Regions from separate parts of the Homo sapiens genome. Here region 1 is linked to region 2. The links are contacts of gene promoters, found by promoter capture Hi-C in blood cells and fetal thymus (Javierre and others, 2016). All regions are on one chromosome and are shown on one strand. The core of a region is centred on a gene start or on the middle of the fragment in contact, and the rest is flanking DNA. Distances in the headings are between cores, read along the strand shown.

Evidence for each region. Contacts are between HindIII fragments. The CHiCAGO score rates a contact against its expected background, and 5 or more counts as called.
Region 1: a contact is called between a fragment that was not itself captured here and the fragment with the promoter of RFC4 in region 2, in 7 of 17 cell types (activated CD4 T cells, naive CD8 T cells, total CD4 T cells and 4 more). The highest score is 8.7, in activated CD4 T cells.

What each region holds. Positions count from the first base shown.
Region 1 is chr3:185,959,414-185,963,409 of GRCh38, forward strand. It overlaps the pseudogene NMRAL2P. Among named protein-coding and RNA genes, the nearest start is that of TRA2B, 23 kb to the left of the region's middle. The HindIII fragment of the contact is 4,527 bases long and covers 1-3,704 here.
Region 2 is chr3:186,804,464-186,808,406 of GRCh38, forward strand. It overlaps RFC4 (replication factor C subunit 4), which reads right to left and starts at 2,019. Exons shown (of 11, transcript NM_002916.5): 1 at 1,827-2,019; 2 at 120-261. The coding sequence starts at 250. RefSeq lists enhancers at 1,575-2,186, 2,187-2,798. The HindIII fragment of the contact is 2,364 bases long and covers 289-2,652 here.

The sequences.
Region 1 (3,996 bases), core at 191-2,690, 850 kb before region 2:
CACTCCAGTTTGGGCAACAAGAGTGAAACTCCATTAAAAAGAAAGAAAGAAAGAAAGAAAGAAAGAAAACAGCAGTGTTGGCTGAGTGCAGTGGCTCATGCCTGTAATCCCAGCATTTTGGGAGGCCAAGGTGGGCGGACCACCTGAGGTCAGGAGTTCGAGACCAGCCTGGCCAACATGGTGAAATCCCCTCGTCTCTACTAAAAATACAAAAAAAAAAAAAAAAAAAAAAAATTAGCCAGGCATAGTGGCACGTGCCTGTAATCCCAGCTACTTGGAAGGCTGAGGCAGGAGAATCCTTTGAACCCAGTGGGTGGAGATTGCAGTGAGCTGTGACTGTGACATTGCACTCAAGCCTGGGTAACAAGAACAAAACTCCATCTCAAAAAAAAAAAAAAAAAAAAAAAGAAGAAGAAAAGAAAAAGAAAAAAAGAAAATTGAAAATTGCAGTGTCACAGTGAGTAAGTGGACTAGTGGTAACAGGAACAAGGAGGGGCACAATAAAAGGCGTGGTAATTGGAATGGGTTTATAATTCTCACCAGAGAAGAAACACAGCATTTCGGCTGGTGTCGCTGCTCCAGGGAAAGTTCTGTTACTCCACTGACTCTCTCTTTTCCTGATAACATGGCCAGCAAGAAAGTAATTACAGTGTTTGGAGCAACAGGTAAAAAGTCTTTAATTTTTAGGGCATGCTGACTTTGCTCACTCTCCTGTCTTCCTGTTTGTAACTTTAGAGCCTGCAAGTGTGGGCTGAACAAAGAGCTCTTTGGAAGAAATTTTTTAAAGTATCCTATTGCTTTAGTTCTTGATGTGGTAAAGGGGTGGCATGATTTGATTTGTAACTTGATCTCAGCAGGACAAGGACACTGACGTAATCTCCCTTTCCCAGTCATGGGGCTAACTGGTTGGTATAAGTCTCATTTCAACATAAGCTATACTCTGAAGTCTTCTCTCCACTCACTTCCTAATAAGCAAAAGGTACAAGTGTGAGGGGCCTGGGGGTTTGTAGTGAATATCCAATGCCTGACCAATCTTCCAGGGAGTCTGCAAGGATGGAGTGTGTGGGAAGTTTGCATTCCTGGCTCCCTTACAGTTTGTTCCTCAACAGTCAGAGCCATCTTTGCACAATATAAATCAAATCAGGTTTTTCTCCTTCAATCTATTCTCATTTCAGCCTCCCAAGGATCCATTTGAAACTGTCAGATCATGTCAGGCCTCTGCTCAAAACCCTCTAAAAGATCCCAGCCCCATGGCACTCCCAGTAAAGTGCAAAGTCCTGCTAATGCCCTGCAACAGGGCCTTGGAAATGTTGTGTCAGAACTCTCTTCCTGCCACCCTCCTCTCACTCCGCTTCATTACCCTGGCTTTCTTGCTGTTCCTCCAAAACAATCCCACAAATACAAAGGCTCTGGCCTTTGTATTGGCTGCTTCTTCAACCTAGAATGATCTCCCTCTGTTACTGATATAATTTGACTGTGTCCCCACCCAAATCTCATCTTGAATTGTAGTTCCCACAATCCCTACATGTCATACGAGTGACCAGGTGGAGATAAATGAATGCTGGGGGCGGTTCCCCCAGCCTGTTCTCATGATAGTGAAAAGAGAGAGTTCCCTGGTCCTGGTCCCCCACCACAGGGTGTGCCACAGGGGTGTGGCTCTCTGTTCTGCCACTGCAAGCTCAAACTCTTTAAGAGATGGGGAGCATGCATACCGGTAGGTGCAGGAACTGGGGCAAGTGCTTTTGGGCTCCAGCCCTATGGCAGCATCTAGGGGTGGGTGTCTGTAACTTTCAAAGCCCAAGTGTGCATGTGTTACAGTGCACTCTTTTAGCCTTGCCATCCACAGATGGCTTAAGGGTTAACCAGCTCAGTGAACCCTCTGCCTTTTTGCAAAAGGAGGGGGCTAGTGTGACAACTTTCTGTATCCCAAGCCCTCATCCAGCATCCCAGAAGAATCAGGTCACACATGGACTTGAAGGATGAATGCAGGGGTTTTATTGAGTGGTGGAAGTGGCTCTCAGTGGGATGGTTGGGGAGCTAGACAGGGGATGGAGTAGAAATATGATCTTGCCCTGGAGTTTGGCTGTCCAGTGGCTGATTCTCCGAACATCCTCAGCCAAACTCCTCCTGACGTTCCTTCTCTTCTCTCCTCTGCTGCACCATTCTGCCATCTGTTTGTCTCCTTGTCTCCTAGTCTGCTTCTGGAGCCTGGGGTTTGGGGCTTATATGGATACAGGATAGGGGTGGTGGCAGGCCAGAAGGCAACTTTTGGGGTGCAAAAACAGGAATGCCTATTACTTAGGGCAGCAGGTATCCAGGCTTAAGGGTGGGGCCTTTGCCAGGAACCACCCTCTTCTACCCAGTATTTCCCTGTCTCCTGTTCGTATCAATAGTGAGTTCGTTCTCATGAGATCTGGTGGTTTTACAAGCGGCTTCCCCCTTCACTGGGCCCTCATTTTCTCTGCTGCCACCCTGTGAAGTGGTGTCTCCCGCCATGATTGTAAGTTTCCTGAGACCTCCCTAGCCATGTGAAACTGTGAGTCAATTAAACCTCTTTTCTTTATAAATTACCCAGTGTTGGGTATTTCTTCACAGCAGTGTGAGAAAGAACTAACACAGTTACCCACTGCTTTCCCCCTCATGCCATTCAGGTCTCTGCTTAGATGTTACCTTTTCCATGGGGACTTTCCAGACCTCTATATTTGAAATTGCAACTCTGCTTCCACCCTGCCCATGTCTGGCTCCCTTCCTTACTTCAATTCTTCTATTTCTGCCTGTCTTTCCACACTAGAATATAAGCTCTATGAGAACAGGAATTTGTCTGGAGGAAGTCAAGGGCTAAAGCAGGAAGCAGAGTGAAATAAATTCTCAAAAATCAACAGTCAAGTATGATATTAAAAGGAGAAGAAGAGGCAATGGAGCGGGGGATGACTCTATTAAGCGTTAGGGTGATGGTAAAGATGTTGGCTTTTCCTGAAAGAGAAAAGTGATCGAAGGGTTTGGTTTTTTCAGTGTGTTTGTGTTTAGCTACAGGGTCTCACTGTGTTGCCTGGGCTGGAGGGTAGTGACTCTCCATCCCAGGAGCCATCATAGTACACAGCCTCAAACTCCTGGGCTCAAGTGATCTTCCCACCTCAGCCTCCCAAGTAGCTGGGACTGCAGGATTGCAACAGCATACCAGACACTGAAGGATTTTGAGCAGAGGAATCACATGACTTTGGTGTTAAAAGGATCATTTTAGCTTATGCTTTGTGAAGGGACTATAGGGGATAAGGGCTGAAGCAGGAAGACCTGTTAGGAGGTGGTTGTCATAAAATAGGCGAGATGATAGTAGCTTAGACCAGGGTGGTAGCAATGAGATTGTGGAGAGTGGTCAGATTCTGTGGAGGTTTTAAAAGTTGTGTTGGCAGGATTTGTTGGTGGACCAGATATCAGGGGTAAGAAGGGAAGAGTTGAAAATGACTCTGAAGTTTTATGGCTTGAGTAACTGGAAGAATAAAGTTGAGATTCACTGAAATATGGGAGACAGTGGGGAGGAGGAGGTCAGGAACTCCTTAAACTTGAATTGGTCTCATTAAACTTGAGTTGCCAACTAGGCATCCAGAGACTGGGTAGGCAGTTGGATAAGATTTTTGGGAGTGGCCAGTCACTCTATTAATTCTGTCTTCTAAATCTCTCTGATTTTTTCCATTCTCCCTCTTAGAAGCTTTTTCCACACTCCATTTGCCTTCTCTCCATGTTCCACCTTTAAACAGAACCATCTTTCAAATCTGATTAATTTTTCAAACCTTGTAGACAGCTAATACCACCTTGTATCACATTCCCATTCTCCTTCATTACTGCTCAAGATGTAAGCCCCTCTGGTTATTAGTCTCAACCCTATATTTCGCCACGCATCCTTTCCTTGACCCCACATCTCAGACTCCCTTGCCTACAAAACCTTCTCACGGTACCCTTCTGTTCCAACATCAACATCTTGCTAAATGCCCCCTCAAC
Region 2 (3,943 bases), core at 769-3,268:
AAGACAACTTCTAAACAGAACAAAGCATTCCTCCATAAGTTAAAAAAAAAAAAAAGTGATCAGTACTGGTTAGAGAGATAATTTATGAATTATTTTAACAAAGACACAAGTGTTCTTACTATTTTTCCACCCAGGGAACGGGTTTGGCTTTCTTGTTCTCTCCGCTACTTCCCGCACTGGCAGCTACTCCTCGATCCTTGGTCAGCGGGGGTTTAGTACTGATGGATGTACCTTTAAGAAATGCTTGCATGGTACTTCACCCTGGTCAGGTGCAAGACAGAAAAAAAAAGCTTTTATTGAAACTTTTATTGCGAATCAGCACCATAGGAAAGCGGGGGTGGTGGTGGGGAACCATTATGAGAAAGTACAGCCCGAAAATAAACTTAGCCTTGTGCAAAGATGTTACATAATAAAGGACATCACCCCATGACCTAGGACACTCTGAATGCACTGTACTGAGGGCTACAAGAACAGAAAAGTGGTCAAAGTCCCTAACGAACTTAGAATCTATTTCTAGTGCAGGAGTTATAGAACAAAGATCATATGTCACAAAAATGTTTAATGAGTTCCAAATGCATTGATAAATATGATGTTGCTAATGACCAAACCACATGGGCCTCCATGGTTTCTTTCACAGTCATGGGCCTAGCTCTAGCTCAGACCCTGAAATGGACTCTTCGGCAATTAAAGGTGCTCTGCTTGCACCACAAATGAGAACCTTCACTCCTTTCCTTGGGTCAGAACTCAAAGACCTTTTTTTGTTGTTGTTGTTTTTGAGACAGGGTCTCACTCTTTTGCCTAGGATGGAGTGCAGTGGCGGAATCATGGTTCACTGCAGCCTTGACATCCCAGGCTCCTGTCATCTTCCCACTTCAGCCTCCCCAGTAGCTAGGACTACAGGTGCGTGCCACCACCCCCGGCTAATTTTTTAAATTTTTGGTAGAGACAGGGTTTCACCATGTTGCCTAGGCTGGTCTGGAACTCCTGGGCTCAAGTAATCCTCCTGCCCCGGCCTCCCAAAGTGCTGGGATTACAGGTGTGAGCCATCTCGCCTGGCCAGGGACCTATTTTCATGGCAGAGTCAATGCTTACCTACCTTCAGAGACTTTCTGTGGGGAAGGGAAGGTGGGGGACTCTGTTGTTAAAATAGAAACAGCTGTTTTTCTCATAACACACTCACTTGAAGAAATCAAAACAATGCATAAAAGCATGAGAGATTTAAAAAAGTAATACAAAATCCCACCCAGAAGGTAACTATTTCTAACATGCAGGTAAACATTCTTCCAGGCTGTTTTCAGGGATAAAAAGCATCATTAGCTCGCCTGAAAAGTCCCCGGTTAATTCTATTTTTTTCACTGCTACATGCCCTGGTGCCTAGAACAGTGCCTGGTACATGGTAGATGCTCCGTAATATTTGGTGAATGAATTACCATCTATGATACCCGGTTTCCTTTTCTGTTAAAGGAGCTAAGGCCTATTCCACAGGACAACTGAGTTAAATAAAAGAATGTATGCAAATACATAGTTCCTTGCTTGGCATATGGGGATATGCTCAATAAAATAAATTTTTAATATCTGTTAGCAGCCAAGGTTTTTATAACGTTACTGGATTAGTCCATCCCTGCCTCGGGCTGTTAAACATTAATACAGCCCAAAGCCGGGGCCTGCAAGATGCTGTCCGGAACCACCATTTCACCAAAGGGCGCGGCCAGGGCATGAAAGGGCCACTAGGCTGGGGCCCCGAAGGAGGTGGAAGACCTCACAAGGGGCATCAAGGGCAGGAGTGGGGAAGGCGAAGCGGGCTTGCAGTTCCTCCAGCAGGTTACCAGTTAGCCTGGCTTCTCGTGCAGGTCACCGCCGCCGGCTCGTTCCTCAGGTTTCCGCGATACAAAAAGGACGAGATGGTCTCGAAGTCTTAGCTCCGTCACCTAATCTGAGAATAACGGGCCCAGGAGACTTACGATCACTGATGTCCCCACAGTCGCCTCAGTTCCCGCCACGGAACGGCGGGCGAAAAGCAGGGCGGGAATACGCCGGTAGGAATACGCGGGCACGTAACGCGTCACTTCCGGTGCTGGGGCGCGCTGCTTGCGGAGGGAGTTTGCCCGTATACGGTTTTATTTAGGCAGGTGATGAGCCAGCCGGACTTTCAGGCAGAACTGGACTGGAACAGGCATGGCCTAGGAGGTGTCCCTGTCCCGGTGCATTGCTCCCACTTCAGACGTGAGCGCGACCCTCCCGGAAGGAGTAGAGGTCGCGCGGGCACGGCGCTGGGGCTGCTTACCTGGCAGGCTCAGCAATGAGGGCGGGGCGGCGGCGCGCGGGCCTCTGGAACCCTGCCGGTCCACCGAAGGTCCCGAGCCCGCTATCTTCGTAGGTGCGGGCCTCCGGAGGTGCAGGTCCCTGTCCTCCTTGTCCTGCTTCGTCGCAGAGCAGAACGCGTGTGCTTTAAGGGCAGAGACATCTGAAGATGCTTTGCCTTGCCCTCTTGAGGACACGTGGCTTTTACTTCTAATAGTGTCTGCGTGTTGTGGAGAGAGAAGACCATGCAGCTGTGGACATCTATTATAATTCCTGAGCCCCACTTAGAAATCTGGAAGTGAAGGCGTTCAATAAAAGTTAAAGGACTGATAATCATGTTTAGCCCCACCAAGCTTCATGCACAGTGGGCTAGGCTGGTGCCTGAGCCCACTGCTTTTATCTCTTCCAAGTACTTGGTTTAGCTCTGAAATGCTCCTTAATCCTATTGAAACCTGACCCTTCTCAAAGGCCACCTTCTCTACTGGTCTTTACTAATTACTAACCCATAAGGTTGTTCCGGGTCTTCTTCAAATGACTGTTTTGTTTGGCACAAACTCAGCATGATATCCATTGTTAACTTTGTACGTTTTTTTCATTTATCTTGCAACAAATGCTTACAGAATGTCCACGCACTGTGTTAGATGCCTGCAGATACAGCAGGGAAAACGCTCGAGATGCCCTCAAGTAGCTTTACAGACTAGGAGAGTGACAGACAATGTGATGTGTGGTTATGCAGAGGAAGTAGGGGGCTGTGAGAACTTACATCCCAGGCCTAACCCAATCAAGGGTTTAACCAAAGTAAGGATGCTTTATGCTACTTTGTAATTTCCACAGAGTCTGATACAATCTCTGGACAGTATAAAAAACACACAGGTTATCTATCTGGTCACCGGTTTACATTACCATAACTTATCAAACTGTATACTTAATGCTTGTATATTTTATTGTATGTAAATTATACCACAATACAGTTGATAAAACAAGATCTATGAAAATAGATGGTATCCATTTGCTACCTGAAGGAACAGCACAACCACAGAGAGGGGGATGTTATGATCTCATTTAACAGACAAGTTGGGCTGGGCACGGTGGCTCATGCCTGTAATCACAGCACTTTGGGAGGCCGAGGTGGGCGGATCACCTGAGGTCGGGAGTTCAAGACCAGCCTGGCCAACATGGTTAAACTCCATCTCTACAAAAATACAAAAATTAGCCAGGTATGATGGCAGGTGCCTGTAATCCCACCTACTTGGGAGGCTGAGGCAGGAGAATCGCTTGAACACGGTAGGTGGAGGTTGCAGTGAGCTGAGATCACGCCATTGCATTCCAGCCTGGTGACAGAGCGAGACTCCGTCTCAAAAACAAACAAACAAAAAAACAGACAAGCTGATGGATAAGTGGTCTTTGTCCATTTTGGCTGCTATGTTTATAAGCCATAGATTGGGTGGCTTATAAACATCATAAATTTATTTCTCACAGTTTTAGTGGCTGGGAAGTCCAAGATCAAGGCACCATAAGATTCAGTGGCTGGTGAGGGTTCACTCCCTCATTGACAGCTGTCTTACTGCTGTAACCTCACTTGGTGGAAAGGGCTAACTAGTTTTCTCCAGCCATCTCCTTTATGAAGGCATTTCTCCCATTC